Linked DNA regions of Homo sapiens: region 1 is linked to region 2. Evidence: promoter capture Hi-C in human tissues and cell types (Jung and others, 2019). All regions are on one chromosome and are shown on one strand. Each heading gives the region's core, a stretch centred on a gene start or on the middle of the fragment in contact. The rest is flanking DNA. Distances are from core to core; before and after follow the strand shown. Region 1 has its middle 7.2 kb from the start of OPCML. Region 2 holds the start of SPATA19 (spermatogenesis associated 19).

Evidence for each region. The method cuts DNA at HindIII sites, captures the fragments that hold promoters and counts their contacts. A contact is called where the count stands out against the background at its distance.
Region 1: a fragment that was not itself captured here is called in contact with the fragment with the promoter of SPATA19 in region 2 in 1 of the 25 tissues and cell types used here (dorsolateral prefrontal cortex).

Annotation. Positions count from the first base shown.
Region 1 is chr11:133,536,163-133,543,150 of GRCh38, forward strand. No RefSeq gene overlaps it. Among named protein-coding and RNA genes, the nearest start is that of OPCML, 7.2 kb to the left of the region's middle. RefSeq lists enhancers at 5,008-5,579, 5,252-5,546. The HindIII fragment of the contact is 3,936 bases long and covers 2,377-6,312 here.
Region 2 is chr11:133,843,097-133,849,985 of GRCh38, forward strand. SPATA19 (spermatogenesis associated 19) reads right to left here and starts at 2,417. Exons shown (of 7, transcript NM_174927.3): 1 at 2,273-2,417; 2 at 2,038-2,094; 3 at 1,413-1,544; 4 at 1,150-1,241. The coding sequence starts at 2,350. The HindIII fragment of the contact is 7,724 bases long and covers 1-6,889 here.

The DNA of each region.
Region 1 (6,988 bases), core at 3,095-5,594, 310 kb before region 2:
GCACTTCTGACTAGGATTCTTTCTTCTGGAACAGCGGTGTTGGGCTGACATCTTCAAAGGCAGCGGCCAGCTTCCTAGGGCCAGATGGGGAATGGGAATGTTGGATCAGGGGTGAGGTCCCCCTGGGTCCAAGGTGTGCTCCTGCCTGATGCCAGTCCTGCTCCTTCACACCAGCTGTATGACCTTGGGCAAGGATACAGGGACTTCCTCTGACTCATATTGTTTCTTTGTTATACAGAGAACTGCACTGATGAAGAGATTACCTTGTGGTATTTTATGTATCCATTCATTCATGCAATAAATATTTCTTAGATACCTACTCTGGGCCAGGTACAAACCTACTACATGTGATGCAAAGAGATACAATGTAAAGCAAGACAAGACTGTCCTCACCCCTCCAAAATTCAGAGAGCAGTGGGGGAGGAGAACATTGAACCGTGAATTGATTACATTTATGACAAGTGTGTGTAGAAAATATATAGGTCTATGGCAAAGCATGAGATACAGATACACCTGGGGACGGGGAGAGTGTGAGACTGCCCTGAGGACAGGACTTCTAAGCTGGGATCCCAGTAGGAGCTTCCCAGAAGGAGGAAAAGCCCGAGATTGTTCCTGGCAGATGAAAGCAGCAAGTGCAAACCCCGGAAGCAGAGAGTAGACTGTGTGGACACTAACAGCTCTTTAGTGCAATTCACATTCACCCAACCTTTTGCTGAGACAAACTCTGCAGTAAATAGTGTTAAGATGATGGATTGGTGCACTTGGAGCCCAACAATGGAACAGGAAGGATGGATTTTTAGATACTGAAATACTTGTTAGGGTTGGGGGCTGCCTGCAAAAAATAAAAAGCGGAAGATGATAAAACATTACAGATTAAAATCTGACTCTTCCACTTAAGCTTTCAATATTCCAAAATGAACTGGAGCCTCCTGAGCTGTAAGTGATTCCCTGAGAGCAAGTTAAAGACTCTGGAAGGCACATTAACTCCTTTAAACCACAAAGGTGTCATTTAGTTCAAAGGAGCAATGATTTATTAAATGACTGGCTTATGACTAGAAGAGTAAGCCCTTCTGAAGTCCCAGGGACTCTCTTACAATGGGAGTTGTACCTTTGGACTCAGGTCTTAACCTATTTCTGATACTTCTTCGAAATTTGAATATGTTCACAAAATATCTTGGTCAAGCCCAAGAAAGCCTTAACAATAAGTATCACTTATGAAACATGCACTACGTTCCAGTTTCCCTGCAAGGTGGCTAACATGCACCGTGGCTACTCTTCACACCAATCCCTTCCACAAAGTAGACACTGCAACACACACTTCACAGAAATGTCAGCTAGGGTTTCCCCAAGGCTCTGCAGAGCATTGGCAGAGCTGAGATTCACTCAGAGCTGGCTGACTCCAAAGGCCACATGCTTTCCATCCTCCCTCAAAGGTCTCTGATACGCTTACATGAAATCATTACAAGGTTTACTACATGATGTCAGCATCATACTTAAAAAAATTTTTTAAACCTTAAAGTAATATATTACATAGTTTATCAAGTTTTTAGTGTTAACTGCTTAAGATTGAAAACAGCATTCCAAATCCCACTCCGCGGGAGCAACAACTTCCATCTCTTTTAGCTATTTCTTCCGGTATTTGCTTCCTTTCTTTTAAAATTGTGCTTATATTTTTGGGAGGCCGAGGCGGGCAGATCACAAGGTTAAGAGATTGAGACCATCCTGGCCAACATGGTGAAACCCCGTCTCTACTAAAAATACAAAAATTAGCTGGGCATGGTGGCAGGTGCCCGTAGTCCCAGCTACCCGGGGGGCTGAGGCAGGGGAATCACTTGAACGTGGGAGGCAGAGGTTACAGTGAGCTGAGATCGCACCACTGCACTCCAGCCCGGTGAAAGATTGAAAAAAAAAAAAAAGTGCTTATTCTTCCACTTCTTCATTTAACAATTTTTAAAATGATTTACTGACTACCTACCACAGGAGATGAGGATTCAACCTTGTTCCCTGCTAACCTTGCACCTCTCCTCCCTTTTTTTTTTTTTTTTTTCAGATGGAGTTTCACTCTTATCACCCAGGCTGCAGTGCAGTGGCGCAATCTTGGCTCACTGCAACCTCTGCCTCCCGAGTTCAAGAGATTCTCCTGCCTCAGCCTCTTGAGTAGCTGGGATTACAGGCACCTGCCACCACGCCTGGGTAATTTTTGTATTTTTTAGTAGAGATGGGGTTTTGCCATGTTCACCAGGCTTGTCTTGAACTCCTGACCTCAGGTGATCCGCCCGCCTCGGCCTCCCAAAGCGCTGGGATTAGAGACATGAGCCACCGTACCCGGCCCCCTTTTTAAATATAAATAATTTCACAGTGTTTAATTATATCAATATGCAGTTGTTTAATTATATCAATATGCAGTATTGACATTTTTTATTATTGTCTTTCTTATGCAACTGTTTGCTTTTCCTGGAGATAATATTTGCCTTTTTGTTTAATTTGCTTAATTTTTTATAGACCTATCATTGACTCTCCCCAAACTTTCTGCAGAACTCTAAAATTTGTCTCATTATTGTTGAATCAATTGAGTAATCTCTCAATGTCTTGTATTAAAGGCATTCCCCAGAGTCATTCATCCCCCTGAACCTCAGGTGTCATCTGGGACTTCCCTTTACCAAGAGAATACAACAGCCTGTGCTTCTCCCTTGTTTCTGGAGGCAGGTTTTCTTTCCTCTCGGTGTCTTTCCTTGTATTAATGCAACTCATCTTTGTATAGATTGCTGAGAAAGCATACTTAGGTGGTTATCTGCATACTGGAAAATGGCTTTATTCTTACCTCACTCAACATGTATAGCTAGTTAAGCTGCACATAGAATGCTGGGTTGAGAATGAGTATCCACTTCAAATTTTGAAGTCATTTCTCTATGTTCTTCTAAGTTTAAGCATTTTTGTTGAAAAGTCTGATGAATATCAATTTATGTATCTTTGTATGTGAGACAGCTTTATTTTGTCTCAGTAAATACTTAGGGTATTCTCTTTATTCATGGCTTTCCAAAATTTTGTAAAGATCTTTCTTAGGCCAGGTGTGGTGGCTCACACCTGTAATCCCAGCACTTTGGGAGGCCAAGGCGGGCGGATCACGAGGTCAGGAGATCGAGACCATCCCGGCTAAAACGGTGAAACCCAGTCTCTACTAAAAATACAAAAAAATTAGCCGGGCGTGGTGGCGGGTGCCTGTAGTCCCAGCTACTTGGGAGGCTGAGGCAGGAGAATGGCGTGAACCCGGGAGGCGGAGCTTGCAGTGAGCCGAGATGGCGCCACTGCACTCCAGCCTGGGTGACAAAGTGAGACTCCCTCTCAAAAAATAAAAAAAAAAGATCTTTCTTAATGTGGATCTGTTTCCTTTCATTGTGACAGGCACTCAATAAACTCTCTTAGTGTGAAAATGTTCATGTCCTTTAACTCTGGGAATTTTGAATTTTTTTCACATTGTGGCTTCAAAATGTTTCTCTTCTCTATTTTATTTGTTCTTATTTGTGGAGGTCCTATTAAAAGGACATTAGAGTACCTGGATTGGTTTCCATCTATTTTCTCTCTTTTTCATCAAGATGCCCTTGACTTTAATTTCTCCTAGTGAATTTTGTTAATTATACTATCAAACTATTAATTTCAAATGGTCTTCTTTGTTGTCTTTTTTTAAAAAATAGTTCCCTATTCTTGTTTCACGTTCACAATATCTTCTAACATCTCTCTGAGGATATTAATTAAGGCTTCTGAGATTTCCTTTTGCTGCCTGCAAAATCTCCATTTCCTCAGATAACGTATTTTTTTTCCCTCAGTTGTGTTGTCTTTGGCTTTTATGCGGAAAAGCTTCCTCAACTGTCTGGTGATCTTTGGTCTTCCTTTTATATTCAAGAGAAAAGCAACAAAAGACTAACTTGCATTATTGACTGGCAGATCCTTTAAAGATTATCAGGCAAGGAGCTGGCCTTGGGGCCCCTTCCCGCAAAGTGTCAGCAGTTGTAGGTCCTTTTTTTTGTCCTTAAGCCAGACAAATTTCCCCACAGAGGAGCCCTTCATTCTCTTCCCAGGGGAGTAAAATCCTGGCTTCTCTCATTCTAGAAGAAGGCTCAGTGGGTTTCACCATTCAGGATGGAGACTCTCAACCTCTTTGTTTTTAATAGAGGGCCTCAACTCTCTCCTGTGGTTGAGACTGGAGCCTCTCTTCTTCAATTCCTTCCAAAAATTAACTTTCCATTCATGCTATAGTGGGAGGATCAGGGAATTCTGGGGATGAGAAGTGTATGACACAGACTTTCAACCAATCCTTTACTTTCAGCCCTCCCCATTTGTGTCTTCCAAGGTATCCTGTACCTCTCATTCCCAGGCCTGGGTCCAACAGTCTAAGTCTATCTGTCATGTCACCCTGCAGACCCTTAAATGTCCTTTCTTCACTAAATCAGTTGCCACTGATTGTTGTTTTTTTTTTTTTTTTCTGAAGAAAACATCCATCACACCTCCAATTTTTTTTCTATTTTTTGTTTGTCCTTGGGATTTGTACCTTTTTAACCCTTTGTTATCATGTCTGTGAGATTAGCGAAGACACTGGAGATCAGCCCTCCATAACTGACTGCATACAAGTTCATGCACTTAGTAGCCATGAAGCAGGAAAGATGACAGACAGAACTGTGACCACACCTGGAATAGCAAGCTCTGCTTCCAATAGAAAGCAAAGTCCTGCACAAACAGGAGTCACTGAAATATGAGTGACTACTGCTGAAGTGTGCGTCAAACATGCACTTTCATGAAGTCATTTATTTGCTTCACCCCCGTGTGAAGGAGCACAGAAGGAACAAATTAGCCCCACTTCGCAGATAGAAAAATAAGGAGGAACTGAGATGAAAAGATCTGACCCAAATCCTAGCAAATCAAGGATTAAGCCAGGACCGGCATACATATATCCTGATACTTAGGCCTTTCCTACCAGCCAGCCCCGACAATGAATGCTCCTTTCAAACACTGTTGCTGTCACTAATCACATAAGCATTGCCTTAGCTCACACACAGCCCAAACACTGGCTAGATGTGCTGGAGACAGTGCAATAACCAAGCTCGCCTCATCACAAGCCTTCTATTTAGATATGCCTGATCCCACTTTAACTAAGTATTGAAGAAAATGGCACCAGATTTTCACCTTCGTATGCAAGTTTTCCCCCAGAACGTCTCTCAAGCAAGAACTGAAATAGCCTATGTAAGGGGGAAAAAGTCATTAGCCCTTTTCCAAAGTGAAGAGCAGGAATGCGGAAGGACGCCCACCCACAAGTAAGTGTCAGGCAGGGCCAGCACTCCCAGACTCCTGCCCGGAGCGCCACCCTCTGTCTTGTGGCTGACTTTGGTTTTCCCTTTCTCTCTCCTCCCTTTTGCTTTCCCCGCCCATTTCCTGTCCTCCTTTTCTCCCTGTGTGGAGGGGCCTCTCCCTACTCTTCTCTGAATGAAAAGGCTACTCTTCTCTCCTTGACATCTTGTTAGGCTGTGAATACACATCTATTGATTTGCATTTGGTGGAAGAAAAAGAGGGAAGGCGGGGAGGGGGTGAAGAAAAAGAAAAACACACAGTCACACATTCCCTAACTTCATGGCTTCCAGGAGGACATGTTCAAGCAAGGCGGAGAATTTTAACTGCATCTCCTTCTGCCTCCAACCCCTCCAGCCACTCCATCACACCAGCTACTGCCTAGGTTCCACCTAGCCCGGGCCCACGCTCGCTCGGAGGAGGTGGCTGGCACCGAGGGAGCCACTCAGGCTTCCTCCCTCCTGCATGTCTGTGCTCACAGATTGCTGACACTGACCCTTTGTGTGAGGCTACAGTCCAAAATAAGTTTTCTTGCAGGATAGGGGCTCAGGAGAGTCAGGAGACTTTGTTGTTAGCAAAGGCTGGCCCCAGAGACTAAGTGACAATGACTTCCATGGTTGTGCTAGCTGTTTGTGCCAATGTAAAAATAAAGCCCAAGTCATTAAGAAGCATACAACTAGGAATCATACACCTCGGTTACAACTGAGGTTCTAACGCTTTCTAGCCATGAGGTACTTAACTCCACATTCTTCTCTTCCCAGAGACCAACATTTAGTGCACAGGGAATGCACACTTTTTTTTTTAAGGATTTACACCCAAAATTAATTCCAAAGCTGCACAGAGATGCAGGACAAGCTTTTCCTTGTCCCTGGCATCTTTGGGGGCCGGGAGCTAATTCTCTATGTAGCAAAAGTGGCCAAGGAATCAAAGGGTTTATTACTTCAACTCAATATGCATCTTTCTATGGCAAAAACTAAGTCAGCATCTAATCTAGGACCATTTTAGCTTATTTTCAAGTAATATTTACTAAGCATTCAATCAGTAACCATTACTGAGCATCCATTGTGCGCAAAGAGAAGCTGAGTGTGCACAGAAGCTTGAGCCCTGCAGAAGGCAGAGATGGCCCTGATGCAGTGTTCCACGGTCCCTGGAGAAAGGAGGGAGGCAGCCAAATGACCAGCAAAAAAGCCTTTGGAAAGTAGGAATGCCCCTGCACGTGGCCATATCATCGTTGCGGTAGTGGATATGACATTCTCTAGGCACAGCCACATCTGCGTATTTCACGAAGAATGCACTATTAGCCAAAGATAGTGGTGCCATTTAAATGAAATCAGCCTGCACAGTATTTTAAATAATCCCGGTTTTGGTTCAGTCCACATGCGCACCTTTTAAAATGGAAACACTGGACCGAGCAGTAATGACAGAGAAAAAAACAAACTCCAGCTACATGTATTTGGACTGGAAATTGTGGAGAGCTCAAGATTGAAATGAATCTGATTGCCCTCCCAGACTTACCTTACACAAAACCGCAGCACTTATGTGAAGATGCCCTCCTGCAAAATTAGATTCTTCAAGCTTCACTAGGTACCTGTGTTTGACACACTTGCTTCTGTTTTCAATATTTCCTTGAAGGATGTAAGAGCCTCTGAGG
Region 2 (6,889 bases), core at 1,167-3,666:
TAGGCGGAGGCTTTTGGTTTAAAATCTTTGTAGAAAATCCAGAGTGGAAAAATTATATGTAAATAATTGACTGATTCCTGTAGCCTGTCTGAAAAGCTTAAAACTAGTTTTTTTATACAGACGAGATTTTTAAAATATTGGAAGATGATGTGTGTGTTATCCAAACCAAGGAGCACAATGTCCGCAATTCCATAGCACAACCACGTCAGGCACAGAAAAGCCTGGATTATAATCAACAACATTTATGATTTTAGGGGCCTCAGAAGGCTTCCCATCCAAAAAAACTCTTTCCCAGGGAGCTCTCAGATCCCACCATGTTATTCCTTTTGGTTATGAAATTACTGTGCATTTGAGTCTTCCTAAAAGGCAGATGCCACTAGAAGGGGTAAGCACATGGAAACCGTTTCTTGAGAAATGGAGCCTCCTTGATACAACAGATCAACATCGATGATGCGGCAGGGAAAGGAGGAAGAGAGGAGGAAGGGGAGAAGTCTCCTTCAGGTTCCCGTAGGACCAGTCTAAGCCCTCAGTCCCTCTCCTGGGAAGGGGTGGCTGATGTGCTCCAGAGACCCCCAGTGAACACAGGTGCAGGAAAGGAAATAGGAAAGCCTCTGTCTGAAGCATGATGGCTTCAGGCCAGCTCCCTGGGCCTCGGGGCTCAGCATCTGCAGAGCCACGAGAGGCAGTGGGGACGGCTGTGAGCTGGCAGGCACCCGGGACGCTGGCGAAGCCACCATAACCGAGTGCAGAATTCTAGCCTCGGGCGCTGGGAAGCCTCCCCACACCTCAGTTGCAGATGAAAACTTTGGCTTTTGCATTTTAAGAGCTTATTTTCTTTTAGCTCTTTAAAGTGCAGCCACTTCTGAGCAACTCAAGTGCAAAAATAACAGAAATCTGAAATGTATTCAGAAGCATTTAAGAAATGGAGTGCAAGCCCAGTTTTCCAACCCCTCAAGTCATTTAAAAATGTAGAAATGAGCTGGGCTTTCAAGATAGCAAGGATATTCCCTTAAGACCCCAAAGCAAGGCTGAGGAATTTGTCAGCCAAAGACGACATCTCTAGAGAAGAGCATCTGAGGGTTCGTGAAGAGAGGGGCTTGCGCATCTCTCCCTCCCCTTCCTTCGCCCAGGGCAAGTGGGACACCTTACCTCCATCTTATGAACTGGATTCGTGTTCTCTCCTCTAGGACCTCTTGGCTCTGGTTTGCCAACAAATCAGACTTAGAGAGGTGGTGCTTCACCTGGGAAATCCAGAGGGTCCATGTGATTCCTGCCCAGTGTGGCCCCCAACTGGGCTGGCACAGAGCCCAGACGAGCACCTCACCCTTGCCCAGAATCATTTACGGTGCACCTCCCACCTCTCCCCTCTCCCTCACCGCTACTCCCAGGCAAGGTCTCAAACTCTCATTTACCACATCTCTGGTCACGTGGATGTCCTGGCCATGGGTGGGAGGGGAGTCAGTGGACATCTTCTCCCTTACACCCTGGGAAGGGTGGTTGATGGACAGCTTTTCCTTTATGCCCCGAGAAGCCTCTTCTTCTGTCTGAAAGGTGAGAAATTCCCTCTGAAAATGTCACTCTGCATCCAACCCTGGGTCTTCTTCTCCTCTTCCTTTCCTTTTATTCATTCTCCATCACAACTCACACACCACATATTCACACACATACACTCCTTACCTCACTGTTCCCACAATAAGCTACTTCCCTGTAAAGTCCTCAGAACTCCCTAAGTCCCTGGCCCTATCCCAAGGTGTTCCTGAGACACCCTTGAGCTGGGAAGGATGCAGCTGAAACCCTTAAGCCAGGATGCTTGAGAAGCAGGACGGCGTTAGTGGTGGTGCTAACACATTTCCTGCCAGGACACAAGCCACAGTGTCCTCCAGCACATGTGAAGAAATTAGACTCAAATCTAGGAAGGGTGTCTGGCAATGAACTTGAGTTCCAGTTCCATGAAGAAGGAAGTCCAGATCCCCACACCCACTGAGACCACTTCTCTAGCATTTTGGATATCCTGAGTCATAAAGAAATCTTACTCACTTTTTTCAACCAATGATGTAGTACAGACACAGCCTCACTTTCCACAACGTCAATGTCCTGGAACAAATTGGCAAGTTGGTGACCTCAGAAAACCTAGAAATTCAGCTCTTCCCACCCAGCCCCCGCAACTGTTACTCAAATTTATTTGTAAGATCTCTATGAAGTGCAGCAGGGTCCCACAGGGGGAGAAGATATATGAAAAATTATTCCATGTGACTACCACCAAGCTGCTTACCGAACTGGTTATTGGTAGGAAGGGAAGCCCTACACCTTTCCGAGCAAGAATATACACAATCCATGTCGTAATTATCATCTTTGAATGTATACCAGGCCCCCTTCTTGGCTCCCTCCTTCCATTGAAGCTGCCTGAGAACTCCTATGGGACAGGAAGGTCATTGAAGGGAGGTGTCCACCTGATTGGCTGACCCATGGTGATGTGACAATGGCCTCCCTTTGAAAATGATGTATGTGAGTATAAATGCCGTTGCCAAGAGCCCCTGCATTTCAGGCTCTGGGTGCACTCCTATGAGTTACCCTGCTTCAAGGAGCAGAACCATTGAATAAAAGATTGCTGTCTAACACCATTGGCTGACCCTTGAATTCTTTTCTTGGGAAAGCACTAATTTGGGAGCTCACCTCCAGGCAGGAGGATGGGGTCTGGAGCCAGGAAACCTAAGGCCGATTTACACTGACTTCCTAGAACTAAATCAAAAGGAAAACCCCAACTTTCCGTGCCCAAGTAACAAAAAGACCAGAGGCTACGCCCTTTGCAACCCTCTCCTTTTCTGCATGGCAGATGAAAAACTGAAAGTATCTCTGATTGCTCCCCTCCCACAATCAGGCTGGTTGTGGGCCAGGTCTTCATTTGCATAGAGATATAACTTTATAACTTCACTTCAGCCTCTGATTGGTCACTTTCCGCAACCAATCAGACTGATCATGAGCCACTACTTCATTTACATAGGGTATATACCAAGTAACCAATGGGAAACCCCTAGAGGGTATTTAAACCCCAGAAAATTCTGTAACCAGTCTGCTCCCATCCTGTGGAGTGTACTTTTATTTTCGTTAAATCTCTGCCTTTGTTACTTCATTCTTTCCTTCGTTTGTGTGTTTTGTCCATTTCTTTGTTTAAGACGCCAAGAACCTGAACACCCTCCACCAGTAACAACCTGTCCCGCAACAACTTGTCATGTGCTCTTGACCTAATCATTAGTCCCTCTGGTCTGAGTTTCTTTGTCTTATACTGAAAGGGATAGAGTTGTGTCCCTAGCTTTCTTCTAACTCTAATATTCCAAAAATTTTCCCACGTTTATTCTTCTCAGGATTATAGAAAACCTTTTATCACTTTCTCCAATTCCCCTGATACAGCCACTACACGTCTTCCCTCTCAACAATTCGCCTCAATTTTATATCATCCCTGACATAGTCAGAATCGGCTAGGCTCTGCTGAGGACTGAGGCAACAAACCAACCTCCAAATCAAAATGTTTATTTCTCACTCTCAAAAGCTCTCGTGCAAGTTGGGTAATTTCAGAGCAATTGTGTGCCATGTGGAGACTCACAGGTCCACATTCAGAGGACACGACCTCCATGACTGCCAAAGCAGGGAAGAGAGCACAGAGAGGAATCAGGTCAGTGTTCCACCTTTCAGCTCAGAGGCTCCTACTTAGAGCTTTTGATCTAGAACTAGTCCTATGGCCCCTACCTAATTCCAAGGAAGACTGGAAATTGTAAAATAGCAGATGAAATTACCTGTCAACATCTCTGTTTCTACAGCTATCCCCTAAAATTTATGTTTTCATCCTTATTGATGTAATTTTATTTTTGAATATTTAAAATATTAATGTGATTCAGAAATCAAAACATGAACAGATACATTCAAGGACGTTCCATCTCTTCCCCATACCTTCAACCTTGTTCTAACTCACTTCAGAAGTAAAATTTTCATTAGTTTCTCGACGACATATCCTGTGCTTATGTTGTCAAAATGAAGCTCATACATAAATCTATTTGCTTTTTGATTACAATGTTATAAAATGCATACAGTAAAATGTACAAATATGCATACAGCGGAGAAAAATTTTTACACACACACACATACACACACACACACACACACACACACACTTACTTGTTTAACCACTGCCCAGATCAAGATAGAAAACATTTTTAGTAGGACATTTGTATTATATTTGATTTGATGCTGTTTAAAATCATGCTGCTATGAAAATTTTTATACTGTACCTATCTTTTGGTTGACATAAGCACTAAATCTTCTGAGTATATACCAAGGATTAGAGTTGCTAGGTCATAGACTTTAGATATGTGTAGCATTCATATACACCAAACAGTACTGCAAAGGGGTTGTATTAATCTACTGCCCATAAGCAATGTATGAAAGTGACAGTTACTCCACGTTTTTTCCAACACTTAGTATTGTCGCTCCTTTAAATTTAGCCAATCTAGTAGAGATGTAGTGGTAACTAATAATACTTTAATTTTCATTTAACCGATTATCAGTGGCATCATGCATGTTTTTATTTGCCTATTGGTCACTTTGGATATTCTTTTTTGTGAAGTGCCTCCTCGAGCTTTGTGCCCTTTCATTGAATTGTTGGTCTTTTTCTTATTGATTTGTAGATTTTTTAATGTATTGTAAATAGTAGTCCTTTATCAATATGTGTTTTGCAATTATTTTATCTCAATTTATGACTTGCCTTTCACTCTTTGAGTACTGTCTTCTGAGGAACAGAAACTCTTAATTTTTAGTCAGTTTTATTGTGATATATTTAAATAATATAAAATTTACCCATCATAATGTATAATTAAATAATTTTTAGTAGATTCAGAGAATTGTGCAACCATCACAACTATTCAATTATAGAACATATCCATCACTCCAGAAATGTTTGTCATGCCCATTTGCAGGCAACCTCGGCTTCCATTCTCAGCCCCACCAATCTGCTTTCTATCTCTAGAGATGTGCCTTTTCTGGACATTTCATACATATGGAACTATACCGTATTATGTCTTGCTTATTTCACCAAGCATGTTTGGGAGGGTCATCTACATACCTTGTAGCATGTGTCAGTAATTCACTCCTTTTTATTATGGGGTATTACCCCATAATACTATTCCACTGCATGGACATACCACATTTTGTTTGTCCATTCACCAGTTGATGTACCTTAAATGGTGTCCAGTTTGGGTCTTCTATGAATAACACTGTAATGAACGTGTTGTTGTTGTTGTTGTTAAATTTTTTAATTTTATCTTTCCATATGTGTTGCGGTACAGGTGGTATTTGGTTACATGAGTAAGTTCTTTAGTGGTGACTTCTGAGATTTTGGTTCACCCATCACCCAAGCAGTGTACACTGCACCACATTTGTAGTCTTTTATCCCTCACCCCCTCCCACTTTTCTCCCCAAGTCCCCGAAGTCCATTGTATTATTCTTATGCCTTTGCATCCTCATAGCTTAGCTCCCACACATCAGCGAGAACATGCAATATTTGGTTTTTCATTCCTGAGTTACTTCACTTAGAATAACAGTCTCCAATCTCATCCAGTTCACTGCAAATGCTATTAATTCATTCCTTTTTATGGCTGAATATTATTCTATCATATATATATATACCACAGTTTCTTTATCCACTCATTGATTGATGGGCATTTGGGTTGCTTCCACGATTTTGCAGTTGTGAATTGTACTGCTATAAATATGCGTGTACAAGTATCTTTTTTGAATAATGACTTTTTTCCTCTGGGTAGGTACCCAGTAGTGGGATTGCTGGATCAAATGGTAGTTCCACTTTTAGTTCTTTAAAGAATCTCCACACTGTTTTCCACAGCGGCTGTGCTAGTTTACATTCCCACCAGCAGTGTAGAAGTGTTCCCTGATCACCGCATGCATGCCAACATCTATTGTTTTTTGATTTTTTGATTCTGGCCATTCTTGCAGGAGTAAGGTGGTATTGAATTGTGGTTTTGATTTGTATTTCCCTGAGCATTAGTGATGTTGAGCATTTTTTCATATGTTTATTGGCCATTTGTGTATCTTCTTCTGAGAATTGTCTATTCATGTCCTTAGCCCACTTTTTGATGGGATTGTTTGAATTTGTTGTAGATTCTTAATATTAGTCCTTTGTCAGACGTATAGATTGTGAAGATTTTCTCCCACTCTGTGGGTTGTCTGTTTATTCTGCTGACTGTTCCTTTTGCCCTGCAAAAGCACGTTAGTTTAATTAGGTCCCAGCTATTTATCTTTGTTTTTATTGCATTTGCTTTTGGGTTCTTGGTCATGAAATCCTTGCCTAAGCCAATGTCTAGAAGGGTTTTTCCAATGTTATCTTCTAGAATTTTTATAGTTTGAGTTCCTAGATTTCAGTCCCTAATCCATCTTGAGTTGATTTTTGTATAAGGTGAGAGATGAGGATCCAGTTTCATTCTCCTACATGTGGCTAGCCAATTATCCCAGCACCATTTGTTGAAAAGGGTATCTTTTCCCCACTTTATGTTTTTGTTTGCTTTGTCAGAGATCAGTTGGCTGTAAGTATTTGGATTTATTTCTGGGTTCCCTATTCTGTTCCATTGGCCTATGTGCCTATTTTTATACCAGTACCACACTGTTTTGGTGACTGTGGCATTACTGTATAGTTTGAAATCAGGTAGTGTAATGCCTCCAGATTTGTTCTTTTTGCTTAGTCTTGCTTTGGCTATGTGGGCTCCTTTTTTGTTTCCATATGAATTTTAGAATTGTTTTTTCTAACTCTTGAAGAATGATTATGGTATTTTAATGGAGATTTCATTGAATTCATAGATTGCTTTTGGCAATGTGGTCATTTTTCACA